Regions from separate parts of the Homo sapiens genome. Here all the other regions are linked to region 4. Evidence: promoter capture Hi-C in 16 types of primary human blood cells and fetal thymus (Javierre and others, 2016). All regions are on one chromosome and are shown on one strand. Each heading gives the region's core, a stretch centred on a gene start or on the middle of the fragment in contact. The rest is flanking DNA. Distances are from core to core; before and after follow the strand shown. Region 1 overlaps GNG7 (G protein subunit gamma 7). Region 2 overlaps BTBD2 (BTB domain containing 2). Region 3 has its middle 8.3 kb from the start of CSNK1G2. Region 4 holds the start of LSM7 (LSM7 homolog, U6 small nuclear RNA and mRNA degradation associated). Region 5 holds the start of ABHD17A (abhydrolase domain containing 17A, depalmitoylase).

Region 1 (2,700 bases), core at 7-2,506, 270 kb before region 4:
ACTCCCTAGACTTTTCCTACACATGCACACTCACATAGATACGTACAGCAATATGGAGCGCATTGTACATTGGCAGTCCTGAGCTGCTTTTTACCTTTCTAAATTTAATTTCTTTTTTTTTTTTTTTTTTGAAACAGAGTCTCACTCTGTTGCCCAGGCTGGAGTGCAGTGGCGCAATCTCGGCTCACTGCAAGCTCTGCCTCCTGGGTTCACGCCATTCTCCTGCCTCAGCCTCCCGAGTAGCTGGCACTACAGGCGCCCGCCACCACGCCTGGCTAATTTTTTGTATTTTTAGTAGAGACGGGGTTTCACCGTGTTAGCCAGGATGGTCTCGATCTGCTGACCTCGTGATCCACCCACCTCGGCCTCCCAAAGTGCTGGGATTACAGGTGTGAGCCACCACACTCGGCCTTATTATTATTATTTTTGAGAAGGAGTTTTGCTCTTGTCACCCAGGCTGGAGTGCAGTGGCGTGATCTCGGCTCACTGCAACCTCCACCTCCTGGGTTCAAGCGATTCTCCTGCCTCAGCCTCCTGAGTAGCTAAGATTACAGGTGCCCGCCACCACGCCCAGCTAATTTTTGTATTTTTAGTAGACACGGGGTTTCACCATGTTGGCCAGGCTGGTCTCAAACTCCTGACCTTAGGTGATCCGCCTGCCTCGGCCTCCCACAGTGTTAGGATTACAGGCGTGAGCCACTGTGACTGGCCCCAAGTAGCATTATTATATAATGGAGTTTTTGTTTGTTTTTATCTTAGAGACAGGATCTTCTTTCTCTGTCACTCAAGCTGGAGTGCAGTAACGCCATCTCAGCTCCCTGCAGCAGCTTCCAACTCCCAGGCTCAAGCAATCCTCCCGCCTCAGTCACCAAAGCTGGGATAACAGGTGCACACCACCATGCCTGGATAATTTTTAAATTTTTATTCTTTCTAGAGATTGGGTCTTGCTATGTTGTCCAGGATGATCTTGAACTCCTGGCCTCAAGTGATCTTCCCACCTCAGCCTCCAAAAGTGCTGGGATTGCAGGTGTGAGCCACCGAGCCCAGCCTATACCTGTGAAATTTCAATATCATAGATAGACTGTGTATCTGTTTATGTTCTGTTTTCTGGGCTTAATCCATAAAAAAAGTAAAATTTGTTTTCATCTCCCCAAGAATTGATGTTCACCCTGTTGAGAATATATTTGTAAAGAAGTCTCGTACTGCAGGAGTGAGAATGGAGACATCTTCATCACAAATCTCACTCCCCAGAATTAACCACTGTTAACAGTGTGGGGTGGATGGGAACTGATCATCAGTGCAGAACGTGAAAGGAGAACAACTGGGTCGATATTTGCCCACTTTTTTTTTTGGGGGGGGGACAGGGTCTCACTTTGTCACCCAGGCTGGAGTGCAGTGGCATAATCATGGCTCACTACAGCCTCAACCTCTTGGACTCAAGCGATCCTCCCACCTCAACCTCCTGAGTAGCTGGGACCACAGGTGGATATCACTACACCTGCTTAATTTTTTTTTAATTTTAATTGAGACGGGGTCTCACTATGTTACCCAGGCTGGTCTGAAACTCCTGGGCTCAAGTGATTTTCCTGCCTCAGCCTTTCAAAGTGCTGGGATTGCAGGTGTGAGCCCCGCGCTGGGCCTGCCTACTATTTTTTATTTTAATTTTAGGGACCGACTCTCACTCTGTCGCCCAGGCTGCAGTGCAGAGGCACGATCTCAGCTCACTGCAACCTCCACCTCCTGGGTTCAAGCGATTCTCCTGTCTCAGCCTCCCAAGTAGCTGGGATTACAGGCATGCACCACCGCACCCGGCTAATTTTTGTATTTTCAGTAGAGATGGGGTTTCACCATGTTGGCCATGCTGGTCCCAAACTCCTGACCTCAGGTGATCCGCCCGCCTCGGCCTCTCAAAGTGCTGAGATTACAGATATGAGCCACCGCGCCCGGCCGCCCACTAGTTTTGATTGTGAGTTCTTCTGGTCCTTGGTTTTCGTAAGCGTTGCTTCCTCCTCTGTAGTAGAGTAACAAGCATGCAGCGTAGAGTCGCCGTGAGAGCTGGATTCGGTCGTTGATGGACAGAGCCGAGTGGAGAGCCTGAGATGACTCAGTGCCACACAGGTGCTGCTCACACAGTTGTCCTGGTCATTGTCGTCTAACCACTGAAACTCCCTAGACTTTTCCTACACATGCACACTCACATAGATACGTACAGCCATATGGAGTGCATTGTACATTGGCGGTCCTGAGCTGCTTTTTACCTTTTTAAATTTAATTTCTTTTTTTTTTTTTTTGAGACAGAGTCTCACTCTGTTGCCCAGGCTGGAGTGCAGTGGTGCGATCTTGGCTCGCTGCAAGCTCCGCCTCCCGGGTTCACGCCATTCTCCTGCCTCAGCCTCCCGAGTAGCTGGGATTACAGGCACCCGCCACCACGCCCGGCTAATTTTTTGTATTTTTACTAGAGACGGAGTTTTGCTATGTTGCCCAGGCTGGTCTCAAACTCCTGAGCTCAGGCAATCCACCCGCCTCGGCCTCCCAAAGTGCTGGGATTACAGGCATGAGCCACTGCACTCGGCCCTTAAATTTAATTTCCTTTCAGCCGGGCATGGTGGCTCACACCTATAATCCCAGCACTTTGGGAGGCTGAGGTGTGTGGATCAATCAACTGAGGTCAGGAGTTCAAGACCGGCCTGACCAACATGG
Region 2 (2,700 bases), core at 1-2,500, 340 kb after region 4:
TCCACCTCCATGGAACCCTGGCTGAACCCCCGGCCCTGGTCCCTGTGCTGCCCCCACCCTGGGCAGGTGGGCTGGGCCTCGAGGGGTCCCCGTTGGCCCTCCCCAGGCCTGAGCCTCCCACTTCCCACCTCCCCGCAGATTATTCACACCGATAGCAACACCGTCTTGGGCCAGAACGACACGGGCTTCAGCTGCGACGGCTCAGCCAGCACCTTCCGCGTCATGTTCAAGGAGCCGGTGGAGGTGCTGCCCAACGTCAACTACACGGCCTGTGCCACGCTCAAGGTGCGCCGCCGGGGACAGGGGTCCCTCCGTGGGAGTCTCTGGCCCATCCTGAAGCCACCGGGGCACAGCACACACTCTCCAGAGGCAGCCACCCTGGCCCAGTCGGGGCCTTGCCCTGTCCACACCTGGGGCATCCCAGCCTGGTGGTCCTTGACCTCACTGTACCCCTATTCCCTACAGGGCCCAGACTCCCACTACGGCACCAAAGGCCTGCGCAAGGTGACACACGAGTCGCCCACCACGGGCGCCAAGACCTGCTTCACCTTTTGCTACGCGGCCGGGAACAACAATGGCACATCCGTGGAGGACGGCCAGATCCCCGAGGTCATCTTCTACACCTAGGCTGCCCGACACCGACACCGCCCTCCCTCCGTGGGGATAGCCGCAGCCCCAGGCCATCATCTGCTGCTGGGGCCCCCCCACCACGCGGTGCCAGGCCCAGTGTCCCCCAGGCCGTCTGTCCACTCCATGCCACCTTTCTCAGCATCAGGACGGGGTTGCCCTGTGTTCACCACGAGTGTGGCTGCTGGATCAGGGCAGCCGGGGAGGTGGCCAGGCCAGTGGCCAGGCCCTGTGGAGACAATCCCTCAGGACTAGGGACAGGGCTGTGCCGGCCTGGGCCAGGGCCCACGGACCCGCAGCTCAGGGCGCCTGCCCACGTCGTCTGCCGGCGGTGCGCCGCGGGCGTCCCTCGCGTCTCTTCACTGCACATTGCAATGCATTTGCGATTCCCATTTCTCTGCTAGGAGCCAGCCTGGGTGGCGCTGCTCCCAGAGCCGTGGGTCCCAGACCTTGCGTTCCTTTTGTTCCTGTCCGTTTATCAGGACACGGGCCCCACCTGTCACGTGCCCGAGGCCACCCAAGCCCAGCCTGCGGGGCGTTCCCACTGCCTGGATGCCGGCTTGAGTTCTGCGCACGCAGGATTCAGTGTGGGGACGGCCCCTGCCGGATAGGCCTAGCCCTGGCCCAGGTGGTGAGCGGTTTGCAGTGTCCGTTCTCATCCACCTGATGGGCCCAGATAAAGGCCCCCGCTGTCCAGCCTCCCTGGACGGCCCTCGCGGTCCCTGCAGCCCAAGATGGGACTCAGACCCTGTGCCCCAGAGCTCCCCTGCCGCAGAATGGGGCCCCAGCCGGCCCCGACCGGGTCCAGGAGCACTGCTCGCCTGTACATACTGTTGCCCTAGCCCACCTGGTGCCGTGGGAGCCACCCCCAGGTGCTGGGGGCACAGCCCCTCCCCACTCCGGCCACGCCCCCACCCACCCCGCGTGTTTCTGCCCTGTGACTCCTGGAACCTGCGTCCTCCCCAAAGCCATGGGAGGGGTGTCCTCCTCAGACCATGCCCCCAGATGATTTTTTTAAATAAAGAAACAAATGCACCTGCCTTGAGCGCACACTGCTTTGCTCCCCTTCACTCTCTGCCCTGTCATCCGGGCTGCAGTGGGCGAGGGATGTCGTGCGCCGAGAGGGGCCCTGAACCCCGGGTCTGGTCGCCAGTGCTGCGAGACCCTCCTTAAGTACCCACAGGCCACACTGAAGCCCGGGAGGTCGAGACTGCAGTGAGCAGTGATGCACCACTGCCCTCCCCCCTGGGCAAGAGCAAGACCCTAACTAACTCAACACCTCCCCCCAAACCCAAATGCAATGGACGTGTGTGCCGATTTCCCCGTGGGGAGGCCCTGCTGGCTGCTGGGGGACCGTGGATGTGAGAGATGGAGAGAAAGCAGGGAGTGCCCAGTTGTGGCCTCAGTGGCCAGAGAAGTCAAGCCGTTGGCTGCTGCCTCAGGAGCACACGTGCAGGGCAAGACATCAAGAAACCCGGCAGCAAGGCCGCGTGGTGGCTCACACGTCATTACAGCACCTTGGGAGGCCGGGCGGGTGGATCACCTGAGGTCAGGAGTTCAGGACCAACCTGGCCGACATGGTGAAACCCCATCTCTACTAAAAACACAAAAATTAGCCAGGTATGGTGGCAGGCACCTGTAATCCCAGCTACTTGGGAGGCTGAGGCAGGCGAATCGCTTGAACCTGGGAGATGGAGGTTGCAGTGAGCCAAGATGGTGCCATTGCACTCCAGCCTGGGCGAGAAAGCAAGACTCCGTCTAAAAAAAAAAAAGCCAGCCGCAAACAGTTGCCAGGAGGCTGAAGGCTGAGCAGATCTCCACAGTGCGCAGTGCTGGGAGCAGGCAATGGAGATGGAGGCTGGCGGGGTAGGGGGCCTTGTCGAACACCCTGGGGGCCGGGCGTGCTGGCTCACACCTGCAATCCCAGCACTTTGGCAGGCTGAGGCAGAACTGCTAGGGGCCAGGAGTTTGAGACCAGCCTGGGCAACACAGCAAGACCCCATCTCTAAAAAAATACATATTAAAAGGAAACACCTTGGGCTTCTAATGAAGACACCAGAAGGGCCACCCACC
Region 3 (2,700 bases), core at 185-2,684, 400 kb after region 4:
GCGTACATGTGTGCATATGTATGTGTGTGCACATGTCTGTCTCTGGGTCTTTGTGTGCGTGGGTGTGTGTGCGCACCTGTGCATCTGGGTGTGTGTGTGTGTGTTCGTCGGTGGGTCTATGGGGGGGTGTGCATTTGTGTGCCTGTGTTTGGCATGCCTGTGTGTGGTGTGTGTTGGTTTGTGTATTGTGTGTGTGAGCATGTGAGTGCCTGCATGGGGGGTATTCAGGAACGCTGCTGTGAATGGCATCGCTCAGCGTCAGGGAACCGTCTTGCTCCAGGTTTTGGGCTGTTTCATGGAGGCTGGGGGATGTTCTTGTTGATGATGCAGCCCACTTGGACTTAACTTATTTTTGGTCATATTGCACCTAAATGGTCCTCCTGGCATTCACTCTGTTCATTTGCCCCTGGTGCCTGGGGACTCCTCCCATGGTGGTGACCAGGGTCTCTCCCACATCTCTTGTCACCAAGGCCAGCCACAGAGGGCAGCCTGCAGTGGACAGGGTGCAGGACAGGGCAACAATGACCATGATGCTTCATGGAAGATGTGAGCTCCCCCCAGGGAGCCTCCCATCCAGAGCCCCCACCCCTCAGCTCGATGGAATGCCCAGCCCCTTGGTGCTGCAACCCCAGTAGGAGGGTGGCATCCTGGACCCAGGCAACAGGGATGCTGCATGCCACAAACACTGAGACACAAAGAAGAAGTGGTTCAAAAGCTGGGTGTGATGGTCACAGATTCTTTGCTGCTCCTCCCACGGAAAGACACAGTTCATTTCCCCTCCCCTGAATGTAGCTGCTCCTGTGACCTGTTTTAGCAACAGAAGGCAGGGGAAGTGGTGCCTTGAGACTTCTGAGGGAGGGTCTTACGAGCTCGACAGTAGGCTGGGCATGGTGCTTACACCTGTCATCCCAGCACTTGGGGAGGCCGAGGCGGGCAGATCACCCGAGGTCAGGAGTTTGAGACCAGCCTAGCCAGCACGGTGAAACCCTGTCTCTACTAAAAATACAAAATTAGCTGGGCGTGGTGGTGGGCACCTGTAATCCCAGCTACTCGGGAAGCTGAGGCAGTAGAATCACTTGAACCTGGGAGGTGGAGGTTGCAGTGAGCCGAGACTGCGCCATTACACTCCAGCCTGGGTGACAGAGTGAGACTGTGTCTCAAAAAAAAAAAAAAAAAAAAAAGAACTCAACAGCGTCCTTTCTGCTTGGAACCCAGCTGCCATCTTGTGAGGCAGCCACCTGGAAGCCCCTGGGTGATGGCACCACTGAGCAGGCACCACCTGCCAGCCCTGTGAGTGAGCTACCTCAAACATTCCCGGCCAGGGAAAGCCACTAAATGATTGCTGATTACCCCCCATCACCACAGGGAGCAGAACTGCCCAGCTGAGCCCGGACACCCCGCATCATGTCAGATATAATCCACTGCCATTCTACCTTAGCCACCCCAAATCCCTAGGGCTGAATGAGGTCATCAAATAATGATTCCTCTCCCACTTTCTCCCCTCTGCTAGTCCCTGGCAGACTGGAGGATGGCCCAGAGGCAGCCAGGTGAGGGGTGACGCCCTTCAAGGCCCTGCTCCAGTGGTCCTCACCAACTACAACCGCCCTGCAGAGCCCCGCTGTGCCCTGCACCTGCTCCCCGGCCCTCATGCCGCTGCCAGGAGTGTCTGTGCTCATCTGTCTTCTCTCCCCTCCAGCCTGAGAAAGCTCCTTCTTCCCACCCCTTACCAGAAATATAAATTGGCCGGGCGCGGTGGCTCATGCCTGTAATCTCAGCACTTTGGGAGGCTGAGGCAGGCAGATCACGAGGTCAGGAGATCGAGGCCATCCTGGCTAACATGGTGAAACCCCGTCTCTACTAAAAATACAAAAAATTAGCCAGGCATGGTGGCGGGCGCCAGTAGTCTCAGGTACTTGGGAGGCTGAGGCAGGAGAATGGCGTGAACCCAGGAGGCAGAGCTTGCAGTGAGCCAAGATGGTGCCGCTGCACTCCAGCCTGGGTGACAGAGTGAGACTCCGTCTCAAAACAAAAAAAAAGAAAAAAAGAAATATAAATTTACTCCTTGCCCCTTCTGTGTTTCAAAGGAGGGTGGCTTTTCAAAGTCCCCACAATGGGGACAGCATTCGAGGCTGCCTCAATGGCTGGTTCCACTTCGCAGCCCCATCTATCCATCAGGACGCCCTCTGCACCCATACTGACTTGTTCCTTTCCAACCCACCCTGACCCTCCACCCATCTGAGCCTTGTCTGGCTTCTCTCAGCCCAACAGGTCTGGCAAAGCTCAGGCAGATGATCACCTCTTTTGGGAGGACTCCATGATACATCAGGCCAAATGAATCCAACCCACCAGCCTCTGGAACTGCTTTCGTCCATGTACTTATGTGTTCTGCCTTCCATGATGGATATTCATGGTCTGTCTGCCCCACTAGGCAGCAGCTCCTGAGGACAGGAACTAAACCTCTTTAAAATGCCTTCAAAAACCCTGCCATGCACCCTGATACAGCCCTAGTTAGTGTACATATTATTATCAGGTTTCTGAAGATAATCCAGGAACACCTATTGTATCAGTCAGCTACTGCTGCATAACAAATTATACCAAACTCAGTGGCCTAAAACAACACATGTCTTTGTGATATGACTGGTGAAATAAATTAAGCAAAAACAAATTATTATTTTTTTTAATAAAAAAGAAGAGGCTGGG
Region 4 (2,700 bases), core at 77-2,576:
GGGCCCGACAGCCTTGCAGAGACCAGGGGCATCTCAGGGTAAGAGAAAAGACTAGAGAGTGAAGCGACTGCAATGAGCTGCAGGCTTCCCCAGCAGCCAGGTCACAACTGGACGGCGCACTCATCTGGATGCGACACGGTCTGACATACTTTGAAAGGGTCACCCCTGCTGTGTCGAGGATGGACTGGGGATGTGGTGGACAAAGGCAGCCACAGCAGAGGGATAGCGGTGGGGCTGGAGGAGTGGAGACTGAGGAGCCAGGTGGCGGCGACGCCTTAAGAGTGAGAACTCTGAGGGGGTAGTGAAGGTTAAGGGCTGCATTTGTGGGGCTGCTCCAGGTTCCATTGCCTGAGCCACCGAACTCAGGAGAGAGGGAAGATTTGGAATTAAGAAAATAAAAGATGCAGTTATGACAGTGCGATCTCGTAGACTGTCCCCACTAGAACCTGACACTCTTTACATCAAATGACACACAATGAACATAATGAAGGCCTGTTGGCCCTGGGCGCTGGTCACCCTGGACAGAACCTCCAGAATCCACACCATAGTCGGTCCTCCTTCTGCACACGAATTCCATCGTCCAAGGTCACGGAGTAAAAGATGGAGCGGGGATCCGACCCCAGTGCAGGGCTGGACTCCTGGCCGCTCCAGGATGCTGCCAGTTACTGGGGGACGCGCGGGACGCCTCTGGGTTCCCCCACCGCACCCCCTAGGGTGAGGTTAGCTTAGCACCGTGCCCGTTCCGCCTAAGGGGAAACTGAGGCTCGGAGAGGGGTGGGCAGCCGCCTGCTCAAGGCCACAGAGCCGGAGAGAGGCGTCCCCGGCGGCAACTGGAGACCCCGAAACGGAGAAGCAGAACCGGAGGATGGAGGGGGCACAAATTTCAGACCCGGTGGGAAGTGAGTGGCGCTGCAGCGGCGGAGGGCCTCCGAGGCGGGGAAAGGAGAGGAGCCGGGGACAGACCCGCAAGGTCACGGCCGAGCCCCGGCACCGCCGGCCGACAACGCGGGGACGGCGGATCCCCGAGGCTGGACCCCCAAGACGGGCCGAGCGGGGTCGTTCCTGCGCGTAGCCCGGGGACAGAGAGGCCGAAGGGCCGCAGCCCGCGGTGCCGTCGGGACCGGTGCCGCGCTCACCTGGGCCGCGAGGAGCAGAAAGGCCGCCAAAAGCCGCGCCAGCGCAGCCGCCACCGCTGCCGCCATGTCGGCCGGTGCCCGCCGCAACCAACGGCAGATGTTTCCCAGCAACGCCCCGAGACCCCGGGCCACGCATGCGCCGCGCATGCGCGTGGGGGAGGTCAAAGGGCGCGGGGCGGTGCCTGCGAAGAGCCACACGGCGCGACAAGATGGCGGTGAGCGCGCGGCGGAATCTGGAGCCGGGGGGCGTGGAGCTCGGGCCGCGCTCCAGGTCTCATGCGCTCTGCTTTCCCCGCAGGATAAGGAGAAGAAGAAAAAGGAGAGCATCTTGGACTTGTCCAAGTACATCGACAAGACGATCCGGGTAAAGTTCCAGGGAGGCCGCGAAGGTGAGGAGGCTCCCGCTGTCGGTACCCCCTCTTTAAAAATTTCAAATAAACCCAGCAACAGAGATGATGAGGACGCATGCGGAAGCACCTCTTTTATTTATTTTCATTATTTTTTTTGAGACGCAGTCTCGCTCTGTCACCCGGGCTGGAGTGCAGTGGTGCGATCTCAGCTCACTGCAACCTCCGCCTCCCAGGTTCAAGTGATTCTTGTGCCTCAGCCTCCCGAGTAGCTGGAATTAATGTGTACCACCACGCCCGGCTAATATTTGTATTTTTAGTAGAGAGGCCATGTTGGCCAGGATGGTCTCAAACTCCTGGCCTCAAGCGATCTGCCTGCCTCAGCCCCCTAAATTGCTGGGATTTCAGGCATGAGCCACCATGCCCAGCCTAGCATTTTTGACTGGGCAAGTGAGCTGCCTTCTCCTAGCCTCCGTTTCCTCATTTGTCAAATGGGGCTGGTAACTCCACCCACTTCACAGGGGGTGGTGAGAATGAATGGTTACAGGCATGTAATGTAATTGAGGCAGCTCTCAGCAGGAAGTAAGCAGTCAGACAACACGTCACTTATTCAATAGCCTCTTGGATCTTTGGTTTCTTTTTTTTGTAAGACGGGGACCCAAACCTCTTTGTCCCTGGATTGTAGACAACTGGGTGGCATGAGAGTTATTAAAAATCACAGTGCCCCAGCCGGACGGGGCGGCTCACGTGTGTAATCCCAGCAATTTGGGAGTCTGAAGCAGGAGGGTGGCTTCACCCTAGGGTTTGAGGCTGCAGTGAGCTATGACCGCACCACTGCACTCCAGCCTGGGCCACAGAGCAAGGCCCAGTCTCAAAAGAGAAAAAGGAGGCCAGGCACAGTGGCTCATGCCTTTAATCTTGACACTTTGGGAGGCCGAGGCAGGCAGATCAGGAGGTCAGGAGATCAAGACCATCCTGGCCTACGTGGTGAAACCCTGTCTCTACTAAAATACAAAAAGTTAGCTGGGCATGGTGGCGCACGCTTGTAGTCCCAGCTACTCGGGGGGCTGAGGCAGGAGAATTGCTTGAACCCCAGAGGCGAGATTGTGCCACCGCACTCCAGCCTGGCGATAGGGCAAGACTCCGTCTCAAAACAAAAAGAAAAAGGAATATGAATAAAATGTTTTCTCAGTCTACACCATGCTGACTCCGGACAT
Region 5 (2,700 bases), core at 72-2,571, 440 kb after region 4:
CCACGCCCGGCTATCTTTTTGTATTTTTAGTAGAGATGAGGTTTCACCGTGTTAGCCAGGATGGTCTTGATCTCCTAACCTCATGATCTGCCCGACTCGGCCTCCCAAAGTGCTGGGATTATAGGCGTGAGCCACCGCGCCCAGCCCATAATGAAATTTTTTTAAGAGACAGGATCTTGCTCTCTCGCCCAGGCTGGAATGCAGTGGAGTGATCATAGTTTTATTTATTTATTTATTTATTTATTTATTTATTTATTTATTTATCTGAGACAGTCTTCTTGCTCTGTCACTTGGGCTGGAGCACAGTGGCCCGATCTTGGCTCACTGCAACCTTCGCCTCCCGGGTTCAAGCGATTCTCCTGCCTCAGCCTCCGGAGTAGCTGGGACTACAGGCGCGTGCCACCATGCCCGGCTAATATTTGTATTTTTAGTAGAGACAGGGTTTCACCACGTTGGTCAGGCTTGGTCTCAAACTCCTGACTTCAGGTGATCTACCTGTTTCAGTCTCCCAAAGTGCTGGGATTACAGGCATGAGCCACCGTGCCCGGCCTAATGTAATATTTTAAAAACTAATGCAAAAGAATTTCTGATGAGCAATATATAAAGACTTTAAATAAGCTGGTCATGGTGGCTTGTGCCTATAGTCCTAGCTACTCAGGAGGCTGAAGTAGGAGGTTCACTTGATCCTGGGAGGTCGAGGCTGCAGTGAGCTATGATGGCACCAGCCTGGGTGACAGAGTAGACTCTATGTTAAAAAAAAGAGGCCAGGTGCGGTGGCTGATGCCTGTAATCCCAACACTTTGGGAGGCTGAGGCAGGAGGATTCTGGGGTCAGGAGTTCGAGGCCACACTGGCCAACATGGGGAAACCCCGTCTCTACTGAAAACACAAAAATTAGCTGGGCATGGTGGTGGGCGCCGGTAATCCCAGCTACTCAGGAGGCTGAGGCAGGAGAATCGCTTGATCCCAGGAGGCAGAAGTTGCAGTGAGCTGAGATCGCGCCATTGTACTCCAGCCTGGGCGACAGAGCGCGACTCCATCTCATAAAGAAAAATATTTTAAAACATTTCTAAATGTTGATGTCTGAGTTTTTTTTGGCGTCCCTGTAAATTTTGTTTTCCAGGCGAGAACTTTACTGGCCTCAACCTATTCCGGGTCCCCAAGTGAATGAAACCTAAGTTTGGCCCCGCCCACAGAGCAGCAGGCCACGCCCCTCGACATATCAGCCCCGCCCCCAGGACGCTAGTCGCGCGGTCGCTCTGTGCCTGCAGACCCCCGCCCCGCGCGCTCCTCGCGTCACTTCCGGGGCGGTGGTGAGAACGAGGCTCACTTCCGTCCGTGGGGGGAGCTGCGGCGGTGGCGGTGCAGGAGGCCGGGCAGGGGTGCGGAGGGACCGACGGACGCACGGGCGGGCGGCCGGGAGCCATGGAGCGCGGCCCTGGGGCCCGGGGGCGCGGGCCGGGGTGGTGAGTGCCGGGCAGGGGCGGGGGCGGGCGCGGCCGCGCGGGGTCCCGGGCCGGGCCTCGAGGGCCTGACAGCCCGGTTGGACGTCCCCGAGACCCCTGCAGTCCCAGGGCTTCCGCGGGTCCTGCCCGAGGAGCCCAGAGCAGGGGCGCGGACCGCGGATGAGCGTCTGTGATTGGGAAAGCCCTGTCCCCATCCATTCAGCCCTCCGGCGTGGGTTGCGCTCCCACCCTCCTGCGGACGCGGCCCTTGCCTTCGGGGAGCACCCGTCCGAGCCGCGGATTCCGCTCTTTTGCCCCGAAACTGCCCCCAGTCCGACAAACGCTTCGGCCTCTCGCCCCCCAAGGCAGCTCCCAGGGGCCCTCCCGAGCCCTGCTTCCCAACCAGCTCCCAGTCGCTGTTTCCCTTGTCAGGCTTCTTCCTGCCACCCTGACTCCTGGGCGGGCTTCCCGGCCTCCGCTCGCGTCCGTTCTCCGGGATGCAGCCCTTCTCCTATGTTGTCCATCGCTTGCTCGGGACTTCTTCGCGGCCCCGCCATTTCTCCCAGGATGAAGTGCAAACTCTCGGGGGCGCGACCTCACCCGTCCCAGGCTCTCTCTTAGGACCCTTCTGCTCACTTCTTCCTCCCAGGGTCTGCTCTAGCCAGGAGCCTGCTCTGTCACCTCGGATTTTGCTCCTGCTTGTCCCTCTGTCCCATCCCCCTGTCACCTGGCCCGTTTGTCTGCCCTCTGATATGGCCGCGCCTCCCCCCAGGCGGGTTTCCCACCCTGACTGGTTGAGTGAGGTGCAGTCACCGTCTCCCATATGTAGGTCATCTTCCAGTATTTTGGCTGCTCGGTTGCTTGCTGGTCCTCAGAACACCTCTAGCTTGCAGAGGGTTGCCCAGTTAAGTGCGTGGGAACGGAATTGGTGGGATTCAGGGTGTCAAGGGTGTGTGCCCAGTGAGTGAGGCGTCTGGGTTTGCACTCCCCAGTCCACGCCCATTAGTGACACTAGGGAGGTTCCAGGTACCTGTGGCTGGAGAGGAGAGGAGACTAGACTTTCCCTTCCCTGTCAAAGCTGGCGGACCTTGGGGATTCTTTTCCTCCTGTGCTTCCTCCTTAATTCTGTGCTGCCTACCACCTGCCCATTCCTTTAGTGAGTGGCAGGTCATGGTCCTGCTCTCATAGAGTTTCTGGTTTGGAGGTGGGGGGAGATCTGGCCAAACGTGTGAAAAATACAAGCTGTGGAAAGAGCG

What was found. The method cuts DNA at HindIII sites, captures the fragments that hold promoters and counts their contacts. A CHiCAGO score of 5 or more calls a contact.
Region 1: a fragment that was not itself captured here is called in contact with the fragment with the promoter of LSM7 in region 4 in 2 of 17 cell types (total B cells and M2 macrophages); the score reaches 6.1 in total B cells.
Region 2: a contact is called between a fragment that was not itself captured here and the fragment with the promoter of LSM7 in region 4, in 2 of 17 cell types (neutrophils and monocytes). The highest score is 5.7, in neutrophils.
Region 3: a fragment that was not itself captured here is called in contact with the fragment with the promoter of LSM7 in region 4 in 1 of 17 cell types (neutrophils); the score reaches 5.2 in neutrophils.
Region 5: a contact is called between the fragment with the promoter of ABHD17A here and the fragment with the promoter of LSM7 in region 4, in 4 of 17 cell types (neutrophils, activated CD4 T cells, monocytes and 1 more). The highest score is 12.1, in neutrophils.

Annotation. Positions count from the first base shown.
Region 1 is chr19:2,595,326-2,598,025 of GRCh38, reverse strand. All of the region lies in intron 2 of GNG7 (G protein subunit gamma 7), which reads left to right. Among named protein-coding and RNA genes, the nearest start is that of MIR7850, 34 kb to the left of the region's middle. The HindIII fragment of the contact is 4,165 bases long and covers 1-2,700 here.
Region 2 is chr19:1,984,415-1,987,114 of GRCh38, reverse strand. It overlaps BTBD2 (BTB domain containing 2), which reads left to right. Exons shown (of 9, transcript NM_017797.4): 8 at 139-285; 9 at 466-1,667. The coding sequence ends at 627. Among named protein-coding and RNA genes, the nearest start is that of BTBD2, 30 kb to the left of the region's middle. The HindIII fragment of the contact is 8,980 bases long and covers 1-2,700 here.
Region 3 is chr19:1,931,499-1,934,198 of GRCh38, reverse strand. No RefSeq gene overlaps it. Among named protein-coding and RNA genes, the nearest start is that of CSNK1G2, 8.3 kb to the left of the region's middle. The HindIII fragment of the contact is 7,321 bases long and covers 1-2,700 here.
Region 4 is chr19:2,327,212-2,329,911 of GRCh38, reverse strand. LSM7 (LSM7 homolog, U6 small nuclear RNA and mRNA degradation associated) reads left to right here and starts at 1,326. Exons shown (of 4, transcript NM_016199.3): 1 at 1,326-1,351; 2 at 1,435-1,525. The coding sequence starts at 1,346. It overlaps SPPL2B (signal peptide peptidase like 2B), which reads right to left and starts at 1,228. Exons shown (of 15, transcript NM_152988.3): 1 at 1,137-1,228. The coding sequence starts at 1,202. RefSeq lists silencers at 942-1,201, 2,222-2,321 and enhancers at 1,412-1,461, 1,472-1,521, 957-1,611, 1,892-1,951. The HindIII fragment of the contact is 4,029 bases long and covers 1-2,700 here.
Region 5 is chr19:1,884,117-1,886,816 of GRCh38, reverse strand. ABHD17A (abhydrolase domain containing 17A, depalmitoylase) reads left to right here and starts at 1,321. Exons shown (of 5, transcript NM_001130111.2): 1 at 1,321-1,465. RefSeq lists a silencer at 1,909-2,056. The HindIII fragment of the contact is 20,961 bases long and covers 1-2,700 here.